2 separate regions of the Homo sapiens genome follow, and region 2 is linked to region 1. The links are contacts of gene promoters, found by promoter capture Hi-C in blood cells and fetal thymus (Javierre and others, 2016). All regions are on one chromosome and are shown on one strand. The core of a region is centred on a gene start or on the middle of the fragment in contact, and the rest is flanking DNA. Distances in the headings are between cores, read along the strand shown. Region 1 holds the start of LEKR1 (leucine, glutamate and lysine rich 1). Region 2 overlaps KCNAB1 (potassium voltage-gated channel subfamily A regulatory beta subunit 1).

Evidence for each region. The method cuts DNA at HindIII sites, captures the fragments that hold promoters and counts their contacts. A CHiCAGO score of 5 or more calls a contact.
Region 2: a fragment that was not itself captured here is called in contact with the fragment with the promoter of LEKR1 in region 1 in 2 of 17 cell types (total CD4 T cells and total B cells); the score reaches 7.8 in total CD4 T cells.

What each region holds. Positions count from the first base shown.
Region 1 is chr3:156,824,085-156,830,085 of GRCh38, forward strand. LEKR1 (leucine, glutamate and lysine rich 1) reads left to right here and starts at 2,269. Exons shown (of 13, transcript NM_001004316.3): 1 at 2,269-2,292; 2 at 5,202-5,293. The coding sequence starts at 5,246. RefSeq lists an enhancer at 2,742-2,801 and a silencer at 3,116-3,410. The HindIII fragment of the contact is 11,302 bases long and covers 1-6,001 here.
Region 2 is chr3:156,150,236-156,156,236 of GRCh38, forward strand. All of the region lies in intron 1 of KCNAB1 (potassium voltage-gated channel subfamily A regulatory beta subunit 1), which reads left to right. Among named protein-coding and RNA genes, the nearest start is that of KCNAB1, 33 kb to the left of the region's middle. The HindIII fragment of the contact is 4,316 bases long and covers 1,419-5,734 here.

The DNA of each region.
Region 1 (6,001 bases), core at 1,019-3,518:
CATAGACTGCAGCCTCAAATTCCTGGGCTCAAGTGATCCTCTCACCTAGGCCTTTCTGAGTAAAGACTACAGGTGTGTGTCACCACACCATGCTAATTTTTTTTTTTTTTATAGTGACAGAGTCTCACTATATTGCCCAGGCCAGTCTCAAACTCCTGGCTTCAAGAGATCCTCCTGCCTCAGCCTGCCAAAGCTCTGGGATTATAGGCATGAACCACCACGCCCAGCCCAACTTTCTATGATAATGAAAATGTTCAGTATCTATGGTGTATCATACATTACCTACATGACTACTGAGTACTTAAAATATGGCTAATGCAATATAGCAATGGAATTTTTAAACATACTTCATTTTAGTGAAATTAGTTACATGAGGCCACCTTACTGGACAGTGCAGGTCTAAGGGAAATTTACAGTGGAAAGGAAATTGGTCTCAAAGGCAATATGCAGACAAATAAACACAGATGAAATTAAACCAAGGAGTGAACTGCAGCCTTTGAGCTGGATTTTCTCCCATCCTTAAAGTGTTGCCTTTCCTTATCCTATAAACAAAGTACTCAATAAAGAAAACTAGCCTCAGAACAGAGTGATCTTGCATTAGGTGTGCAAATTCCTGTCCCAGATAGGTACCAGTTTTGGTGCCCTGTATCTAAACTTCCATTATCACAAAATGAGAGCAGTCCTACCCTCACTATCTCTCAGATAAATATGACGAGGATGAATAGCTCTGAAAGTTATTTGGGCTTCTCATAAGCATGTTATAGTTGACCACTTGGTTGACTGTCCTCTAGGCCTCTTAATCCTTTCTTCTTTGAGGGAGTGGAAACAGAAAATCAAGGGTAGGCATTGGGGCAAAAATATCAGTCAGGTTAAATGTACAAGATACATCTACTAGACTTTTTTTTTTTTTTTTTTTTTTGAGACTGAGTCTTGGTCTGTCGCCCAGGCTGGAGTGCAGTGGCATTATCTCGGCTCAGGGTAAGCTCTGCCTCCCAGGTTCACGCCATTCTCCTGCCTCAGCCTCCCGAGTAGCCCAAGTAGCTGGGACTACAGGCGCCCGCCACCACGCCCGGCTACTTTTTTGTATTTTTAGTAGAGACGGGGTTTCACCGTGTTAGCCAGGATGATCTCGATCTCCTGACCTTGTGATCTGCCCGCCTTGGCCTCCCAAAGTGCTGGAATTACAGGCCCGAGCCACCGCGCCCAGCCACATCTACTAGACTTTTTAGTGCCAAGGAACAAGGCACTAGTGTTCAGTACTTCCTGGTGTCATTAATTAGTAGTTATCAATAAGCAGTTTGGTGTACCGATACTGCTCTGCGTCATTTAATCACTTCTCTAAATCTATAGGTTCAATTAATTTTCTTTGTATTTACTTAATCTTATTTTATTCAATAGCAAACCAGTCTCTTTGCCTGCTACAGAGCCATCGATGTTTTCTTTGGTTCTTGGAAGAACTGTACTTCGACCTTATATAATCCTCAGAAAGGCAAGATCTGGACTACGAATGAGTCACCTGCTAATTACACCAATGGCTGCTCCTGCCTTGACCAGTCACAGAGTATCACCCTATCTCGGTATGCTGCTCTGCTTGTCGCGTAGTAGGTCTATAAATACTTGTTTTATGAATGAATGTATGAACAAAGGGAAGTTAGTCACGTGTAAGGGTGGGTAGCCTGCGATAAATAAAGTGTAGACTAGGAGGTCTCAAAATACTTTTTGAACTAAGCCCTTAATCTTCACTACTTTGGACTAGAATGGAAATGTCACCAACGCCTTCCCAATTAATTTGTCCTGGCTGTAATGACTGAAACCAGAACTTCCCTTTACACCCATGACCTCTACAGGCATCTCTTTTTCCTCTGCTCAAGAACAGTAACTGCTCACTGCTGTGTCTACCACATAGGCCCCAGAGCAAGGGGTGATAGGTAGGGCTATAGGCTCCCGACTCCCGACTCCCGGCAGTGCCTCTCTCCAACCCCCCACGAGGCTGGGACAGCTCCCTCCATCTCAGCAGTCGCTACCAAGCACCCGACCCACTCTCGCCCACCTCATCCCTCGATCCCCTTCCCTCCCTCTCACAGCATTCCGCGTAAGACTAGCCCAGCCTTCCGAGCCCCACCACCAGTTTTCCCACTTCCGCCCGGCGCGTGAGACCCTGGGCGGTGCAGGGGAGCGTTGACGACAGACGTGGGCCGTGACGTCGCCGCGCCCTGACGTCCAGCCGACTGGCGGCGCGGTCGCCCGGGAGACCGGGAAAGCCGTTTCACACCCGTCCTAGTCGAAGTCGAGGTGAGGGACGATGGCTTTCCTCAGCCTGGGATGACCCGGTCCTCCAAATGCAGTTCCGGAGTGGAGGCGTGCTCGCACCCGGGGAGAGAGCCAGAAAGCTGAGCCGCGGCGCCCCAGCGAGAGCACGAGGCCCCGGGTCTGGACTCCGCCACCACGCTCCTCTGCGGCCCCTTCCTGGTGTCTGCCAGCCCGCGGGGCCCAGGCGCGGTCCGCCTTCCTCCCAGCCCCGGGGAACGCGCGGCTCTGCTTCCTCACCCCCGCACCCTCCTCCTCCTCCTCTTCCGGCCACTGCAGGTCCAGGGGGAACGGGGTTAGAAAGGGACAGATTTGAAAGCCATTCCAGCAGTTTTGTCTGGCCTTGCGGTTGGTTTCTGTGTGGAAGAGCCTGCCGCTTCAGGAAAGTCTTAGGATGTGAACTCCCGCCTTCACCTGCCCCTGACCTGCTCGTTGTGGGTGATTCACGCCATGGGAATGGTTCTTTACGTAAGGGCTTGAAAGCTGAACGTGAGTTAATGGCCTGACGTGACACTAGTGTGAGAAACGGAATTGGAAACGAACAAGGACGTGTCTGCATTTTAAAAAATGTCTTTTCGGTGATCTTGTTAGAGAGGAGGTTCACAAACACCCACGTAGCTGCAGCCACTTATCACTGCACCTCTTGCCAAAGTGCGGTCCACATACGTGCAATGAGAAAGGATTAAAGGGACTTGTTTGATAACACACGCAAAACTATGTAAGACTAAATTTAAAAAATTACAGATTTTCCCTGTTGCCAAAAGGGAAAGACCCTTCTTTTTTCTTGAGAAACTTAGTATTTGTGAATGCTTCCTCTATTTAATATGTATGCAAATGTTTTTAAAGACCTAGGAATGCTTTTCTTGAGGACCTGGAAGCCATTTCTTTAAAATGTAAACATCAAGGAAGATAGGGCCCCAGTCTCCTTGTCACTTTGGGAGTTTAACCTAGGTGCGTTATTCCTAATTGTAAACACCTGTTTCGTTATGGAGCTGTGCATTACTTAGGAGGAAAGCCGTTAGCTAACACAGGTGGTTACCCCAATTACCAGATGAATTAAAGAGGAAATATAAAAGAATGTATAGAACACTATGTTAAGCCCTCTTACATGAGGACACGTTACCAGTTTCCTTGAGAATGTGTAATGGATTGTGTCTCCTTGGCTGTATAAAAGAGGGATTTCCTTCTCTCTTTGTAACCTCATTAGCAGATTAGCCGTGATGTGCATCAAAGTCTAGTTGAATGCCTAATAAAATTGTTGTCTTTCTGCATTGTGGAGCATTTTCTGGGTTGGCAGGACTTTTAATTTTTAGTTTCCCCCCGATAATCAGAACCTGCCAATTCCTCCCCTTCTTATGCTAAGGCCATAAAGTTGGAATAGATTCACAGACAATGAAGGCACTACACAAAAACTGTTCTACTGGTGCTTTGTTTATACTGTCATTTAGATCCGTGCTCTCAGATAACTTTATGGGTGAAATTTTAAAAGGATGTTTAGATGGTAATTTTTTGGAAAATTCTCCCAATAGAGTTGAAGTTACTATTTCATTTTACTGATGGCAAATCCACCATTAAATGACAGAAATGAGAATAATGAGCCTTCTGGGCTCTTGCCACATGATTATGACAATCTGCCAAACATCAGATTATGTTTGGGCTTATGTTGACATGGTTAATGGTACCTCCATTGCAGACCTCAGTTAACTTTACCACACATGTCATATTATGTTTTATGTGGGAAGACATAAAGCTCATTAGTTTTTGGTTTTAAACAGCAACTCACTGAAATGAGTCTTTGTGCTAACACAGGGAACAAGGAATCTTCTCTTCCACTAGTGGTTGCACCATTTACAAAGATAATGCCACTATAGGACTTTTTGACAACTACGGTTTCCCTGCTACCTTGCTGTATGGCCGGGGTTGCTCTCTCTGATAGAGTACTTTGCTTCTCCAGTCTCTTGTCAAAATCCTGCCCTGATTGAATACAAGCAACCTCAGGAAGCCTTCACTAACTCCCACCTCTCATCTGAAACATAAGATCTTTTCCTTTCTTGAACTCTTAGACTGCTCTTGTCTATGCCTTCTTCCCTGCTATGGAATTGTGCCTGTATCATCTGACTCTGCTGCCACTGCCCTCGCCCTTCTCCTGACTTCTTAGATATGTATAAACAGCCCTTACTCGTGAGGGAAGGATTTAAAAAAAAAAACAAAAAACCCAAAGTGCTCCTCCATTTATCCTCTGGTTTTATGAAAGTAGTGACTGACCTTTATATTGAATGGCTTTTATTAGAAAAAGAAAATCTGTTAAAAGTAAAATATCTGCATAAAATTATATAAATGTCCATCTTAGATAAAATTGGCACTTGGCTTCTTATTTTTTGATCACTCTTCTGTTCAGTGTTTGCATATCATATTTAATATGGTATCTCTAAATGCTCTTTTTCTGTATTTCATCATTTAATCCAGCATTCATGCCACAATTGCTTTTTTCATCTGCTAAAATACTATATTTTCATACTTTTTCTAGCAGCATTTCAGAAAAATATTTGATTTTTAAAATACACTGAAATGTGTATTTAAAATTTTAGTCATTATGTATTTGAAAAACAATTAGTAGTAAATCACAACAGAAATTATTAGACTATAAAGTTCTAACAAAAGAGAAAATATTCTTTCTAACTTAGCAGTCTCTATAGTTCTCTCCTGTTCTATTGGCCCAATAACTAACGGAGAAAACCCTAACTGTACCTTCTAACATTGAGCTGATGAAATAAGCATCTGTTGAAACAGTTATCACCATTCATCCCCAAATACTTCTAGGAGTTTATAAAGCATCTTAATTTGAATGTTCTCTACATTATTTCTGTTCTGACTGTTGCCATCAATGTTCTTAGATTTCCTTTGGCTTCAAAGCTCTCTCACCATATTTTGGGAAGTTATGGATCATCACATTCCCATGCATGCGTTGCCTGAAGAAATCCAAAAGGTATGATATATTGTGTTGCTACAGCCTAACAGTGGGAACATGTAGCAGTTACATAATTCTAAAACCTAGAGGAGTGAATTCATTAATTTTGGTCATAGGATCTGAATGAATTGGTGGAGTGGGAGAGGGAATAATTATTATCATAATGAGCAGAATTGTAGAATTCAATTCAGTATGAAGAATTTTGCTGCTATGGAAGAAGACATATATCTAATTCCAGTACAGTATTTGACCAGGTGGTTGTGGAGCCCTAGTGAAAAGCAGGCATCAGAAACGTCCATGTGTGTTTTAATGGGGCTGGATTTCTAAGCCTCTATTATGGTTTGACCAACATTAATTCTCAGTACTTACTGTGTGCCAAGCACTGTTTTAAGCCCCTTTTATGCAGATGACCCTTGAACAACATGGAACTAAATTGTGTAGGTCCACTTATATGTGGGTTTTTAAAATAAATATATTGGAAAATGTTTTGAAGATTTGGAATGGTTTGAAAAAACTCACAGGCGAACCAAGTAGCCTAGAAATATTGAAAAAATTAAGAAAAAGGCATGTCATGAATGCATAAAATGTATGTAGACACTAGTCTATTTTGTCATTTACTACCATAAAATATGCACAAATCTATTATAAAAAGGTAAAATTTATCAAAACTTATGCACACAGACACTTAAGAAACTACGTGGTGCTATTTGCAGTCAAGAGATGTAA
Region 2 (6,001 bases), core at 2,327-4,826, 670 kb before region 1:
ACGTGTTATTTCCTATTGAATGGAATAGAAATTCTAAAATAAGTATGTTTTCAAAGTGTCAGTTTAGATAGAAAATGCTTAGAATTTAAGCAAGAGTGAGAGACGAGTGCTGCTTGGGTTTGAAATATTGTTGAGAGGGGCAGATATTCAATCTGTTTTGAAATTTCCACTTGGGGTTTTCCAGGATAAAAGTTGCTTTGTTTATGCAGCATGACGAAAATACTGGAAATTCAGGGCTTGAGAACAATACTGGGTTACAGGGATCCGTGCTTTCTTATATACAAGTTGTTGACAGCGGTTTCGTCTGAAAAAAAGTGAGCATTTTGAAATCTGATTTTCATGACCGAGGAGTAACTGTAGGCCAAAGATGTTTTCACCCAAGAGAAAAACAATTCCTGAATTTCCCTGCAGTGCCTTTGAGTGCCACTGGGATGTGCTATTTCATAAAGAAAAGGAAGCTCTTCTGTTGCCTGAAACGCTGCTAGCAGAAAACTTTATTCAGACAGTCCTAGACTCGAACTTAAATTTGAATCTATGTATTTACCTTGATTATGACAATGGGAAATTTTATATAGTGAGAAAAAAATTAAAAAGGTAAGACCAGCATATTCCTAAGGTTCTGAGAAGCCTAGATTCCATGGCAAGCCTATGTTATTATAACCTAACCCAGTTAGATATTTTATAGAGCAAATTTTCTATGTCTGGGAGTTTTCTAGCGTAGGGGGTTCTGAGCTACACCACAGACCTCTGGGCATGGCTGGTGAAGAAAGGAAAAGTAGACATCTCATCCCCTACCATCTTTCAGAGAATATTCTGTTGGTGTCAGCCCCACCTCAGGTGCAGGCACCTTGTTACACAGTTAAGATGGAGCAGACTGGAACGTGTGTGCTATCTGGACTGCACGGGAGAAGGCCATATCAAAGCCTGTCAATGCTCTCAGAACCATGGTCTTGTGGGCCTGGCTCATCACCAAGTTAGGAGATGGCCCTCCTCTGTACCCACTGTTTGTTTTCACATATCACGTGTCACCTCTCCACACTTAGAGCGAGTGCCTCCCATCCAGTGATTCCTCTTCCTCTCCTTATCTAGTTACCAACTAATTCTCCCTAAGTTTTAAAATATAGATGCTTTTTAATAGAGTGTCTGCAAAATATATCATCCAAAGAAATGAATCCCTAATGATGGGAGTACAGGTTATTTTTAGACAAACTGTCTAGTACTTAAGGCCAGAACTATTTTAAAATTTTTATCTGAAAATAATTTCAAACATAAGGAAAAGTTGCTAAAATAATATAAAGAACACATCTGGGCTATTTATTCCTTAACATATTGTTAACATTTTGCCCCATTTGCTTTAACTTTTGTTCATGCTCTCACATGCTCACTCCTTACAACCCACCTCTCCATTTATTTTTCCAAGCTTTTTAAAACTAAGTTGCACACATCATGGCTTTTTAGTCCTCAGTATCTCTTAATAGTTATGATATTTTCTTATCCCCAATACAATTAACAACTTTGGTAAAATTTACATAAATATGATATTTTAATCTACCATTGTATTCTAATTTTGTCAGCTGACACAATAATGCTCTTTGTGGCATTTTTTTACTCCAGTTGTACAGGATCAGTATTGGATGGCAATATTTTGTTGTCATATCTTTTAGGTCTCCTTCAATCTGGAACAGTTCAGGAGAAATTAATTTTAGTATAGGAAGGAGGTCAAAGGAAAGACTATGACTAATTGCAAGTCCGCCTTGGGTTGGGAGGTGGCGCTGTGGTGCCACACAATTGTTATGCCTGCAGGAAGGTCTCCTGGATATTGTTACCGTGTCCCTGACAACGACTGTGTCTCCCACAGCTACCCAGCGAGGGTTACCACGTTTTCTTCTGGAACTTTAGGCCCAAAGCTGAGGGATCTCATAGGCCTGCTGACCTTATTAGCCTACATAAATCCGGTCCCCTGTGTCCCTGTGCTCAGCACATCCCCTGAGGGTGGGTGTTAGTGGTAGGTGTGTTAAAAGGGAGTCACCAGGCGTTAAGAGGGGTAAGGCCCTCTGAGCACTGATGGACCACAGACACGGTTACCTCAGGATTGTCTAGCCCCTAAGTCAGGTGCCCATAAATGAGCTGGGTTAGGAAACCATCCCAAGAGGCTGAAGTGGCAGCCGAAGGAGAGGCCTGATACCAGCTGGATTCAGAGTGACGGGAGTATGGATTCTGGCCTTAGCTTCTGGTGAACCCACTGTGGGAGGGGTGGGAGCTTTCAGAAAGATGCAGGTTCTCAATGGGCTAGATGGAACATTTTTAGACAATGGATTTTGACCCAATTGTCTTCTGTCATTTTCTCCTTCATGATATTCCTCTTAATTTGCTAAGGCAGATGAGATAGAAGCTCTGACAATTGTAGAGTGTGGGTGTAAAATGTGCAGCTCATTAAGTATCCAAGCTCTCCGTTTAGCATTTGAAGGGTTTGTAACAGGTCAGTGATTCACCCTGCTTTTGGAATTTTACGGCACTCTATAACTCAGTGCATAGTGACAATACATGCCTCTAGAAGCTAGTTACGGTTTCAAAACAGAGCTATGATTACTTCCAGAGATGACCATTGTATAAGATGGGCACCTTTATACGTAACTTCCCAAAAGGTTAACTCTCGTTGTAACTTCTTTGTAACATTCCATGCTAGCACTTTCTTCCTCTACCTCTATTTTTCCTTTTGGCGCACTTATTTGTTTATTTCTGTATTGTCTGTCTCTCTCACTGGAATGTGAATTCCAAAAGGGCAGGGATTTTATCTGTATAGTTAATTACTGCATTCCCAGAATCTGACATCTAGTGTAGAGCTCAATAAATATTTGCTGAATAAATAAATTATTAAGCAGGAGTCTAACAAATAAACCTTCAATGTTCACTGGAGGACAAGCCGCTGGATATCAGTCACAGGGCACCACTTCACCAGGATCCATAGTCTCCCCAGCGCTCACTTCCTAACTTTCTCTCTTTACCAAAAATCCAAGTATCCTTATTTGAGATAGTGATACTTGAGGATGACATTGTTCTCGTAGGAAATAGGTCCTTAAATCTTGGATTTTAAGATGCTTTGAGGTGACCATATCATGCTCATCATGGCATAGCCCACTGTATGTTTGTTTCTTCTGAGATATCCATTTTGTTTAACCTTAATTTGCTCATTTACTTCAATCATTCATTAAGTTTGTGATGATTAATTTTGTGTCAGTTTGACTGGGCCACAGGGTGCCCAGACATTTGGTCAAACACTATTCTGTGTGTGTCTGTGAAGGTGTTTTTGCATGAAATTAACATTGGAATTGGTGGACTGAGTAAAGCAGACTGCCCTCCCCACTGTGGTTGGGCGTCATCCAGTCATTTGAAGTTGAACAAAAACGCTGACCTCTCACAAGTAGGAGGGTATTCCTTCTGCCTGATTGTTGGATCTGAGACATCGGTCTATTTCTGCTTTCAGAGTTGAACTGAAACATCAGCTCTTCTTGAGTCAAGTCTTGAGCCTTCCGGCTTTTGGGTCCAAACTTACACCATTGACCCACCTGAATCTCAGGCCTTCAGATTTGGATCAGAATTACACTATTGGCTCTCTTGCATCTCCAACTTGCCAACTGCTATTCTTGGGAGTTCTCAGCCTCCACAGTTGCATGAGCTAGTTCCTTATAATCAATCAATTAATCAGTCAATCCCTATCTATCCATTTATCTATGAATTTATCCATCTCCTGTTAGTTGTGTTTATCTGGAAAACTCTAAGTAACATAGATTTCTCATTGTACTTTCCTCCAAAAAAGTTCTCCATGTGTTGCTGCCCAGGCCTATTCATAGTGGGGCCTTGAGTTACCTTGACCAGAATGAGACACTCGTTGCTTTCACTCAGTGTGAATTCCTGTTTCCACTTAGAGGTGGTGCTTTCTGAGGGAGGTTTAGCTGATTACAGTCTGACTAAGGTCACCAGAAGTAGTGCAGATAGTAGTGCAGATGTCTAACACACTCATATTACAGAGCCATGGGCCTCTCCTTCTCCACTCCTCTCACCACCAGCTAGCTCTTCTTTCCCTTTCTACCAGTTGTCCCTCAATCCCACTGGCAAGTCCTCTTTAAGTTTACTCTTTTCCTCATTTCGCCTTTCCATCTTATTACAGGAGGGGTCATCATCTCATTGTAGCAGCCAGTTGTCATCCTCCGAACTATGGGGGACAAGTGTGGAGAGCTAGCTTACCTGTTGGGATTCCTAGCTGACTCGTCCTCCTAGATAAATGCGCCAGAGGATTTTCTGTCTATTCAGTAATTGTGGATGAGTGTGGGTTCTGGTTAGACTTCTTGTTCTTGGTATAGATCAGACTTTCCCATCAACTATTTGACCTACAACTGAAACACTCTTTCACTGGTAATTAATAGTTGCAGGCTGGTCCTTGGTGGTATCATCAGATCCATGGGTTTTCTTACTTAAGTCTGCCCTACTCTACCACTTTGGCAAGACCCTGGCCCATTTGACTCAGCAAAGGTAGTCAGTGCTGCTGGGACTGGGCAATGGCAGTGGAGGGGTCATGCGTTTCTACTTCAGAGGGTTGGTTACCTGCAGGAGCCTGGGTGAGACTCATTACAGTGGACAGAATCCAGCTATCTTCTTTCTGCCCCTTCTTCACAGGTACCTCTCCAAGGGCCTTCCATTTCTGACCTAATGTTCACCACTTCTTGGGTTCTGGATCCTGTATGGGTTAAATATTTTCCCTAATATGTCTCATGACTGTCTCATTTAAATTGTTGGATAATCCAAAACATATTCTTATACAAGATGGAAAAACAGGTTCATGCAGCCAAATTTACTAATACAAATTATATGATACATTGGTGACACTCTTTACAAAGCTATTTTGTATGACCACTAGTCAAGCCTCGCTGTTTTTGGTACACTATCTATTTTTACTGAACCATCTACCTATCCCCCCTGCCCTGCCACCACCCCTCACACAGATTCATCCAACAGCTCTCCATTGAGTGCTCACCTTGAGTTATGCACAATTCCAGGCATTGGAGATACAGCAGTGAACACTTAGGCTAAGTTCTCTGCTTTTTAAAGGATTTAATTCTAGTGGGGACGTGCCAGTTAATGAACAAAAATAAATAAATAAAATTTATAATACTTTAGAAGCATAAATTCTCTGGAGAAACACAAAGCACAGAAGGAGGATGAGTATTTGTGACAGGGAGCAGTTGCCATTTTAAATAACATAGCCAAGGAAGGCCTCACTGAGAAGACAGCATTTGAATAAGTACCTGAAGGAGGTAGAAATGACAATCATTGAAGTTTCCGGGGTAAAGAGTATTATAGACAGAAGGAACAGTATATGCAAAAGCCCAGTGTGAAAGTCTGTAGAAAGAAACAAAAACAGCCAGTGTGTCAAGGGCAGAGTGAATGAATGGTAGAATAGTAAGAAATGATGTCAAGAAGGTAAAGGGGAGAATTGAAAGTTCAGGAGGTCCTCAAGAATGCTCTCAGGTTCAGTGATTCACTAGAAGGACTCACAGAACTCAGCAAAGTCATTATGCTCATGGTCGTGGTTTATTACAGCAAAAAGATACAGATTAAAATTAGCATCAGGAAGAGGTACCTAGGGTTGGGTCCAGGAGAACCAGGAATGGAGCTTCCAATTGTCCTTTCCCACTGGAGTTGTGTGGATAGTGCTTATTTCTCTCAGGAACTGGGAAGCTTACCTGAACCTTGGTGTCCAGAGTTTTTATTTGGGTTTGGCCATGTAGACACGGCTGACTACCTGTGTGTTTGACCTTAGTCTCTGGCCCCTCTGGAGTTCAGGCTGATACAATGTGGCCCAAGACTCCCACCATAAATTAAATACTTAGCCTAGACTATCTCGTAGGGCCTTAGGCCCCCAGATAAACAAAGACATTTTTATTGGGTAGGGCATTCCAAGGGCTTAGAGGTTAACTCCCAGGAGTTGGGGGCAAGGAGCTAG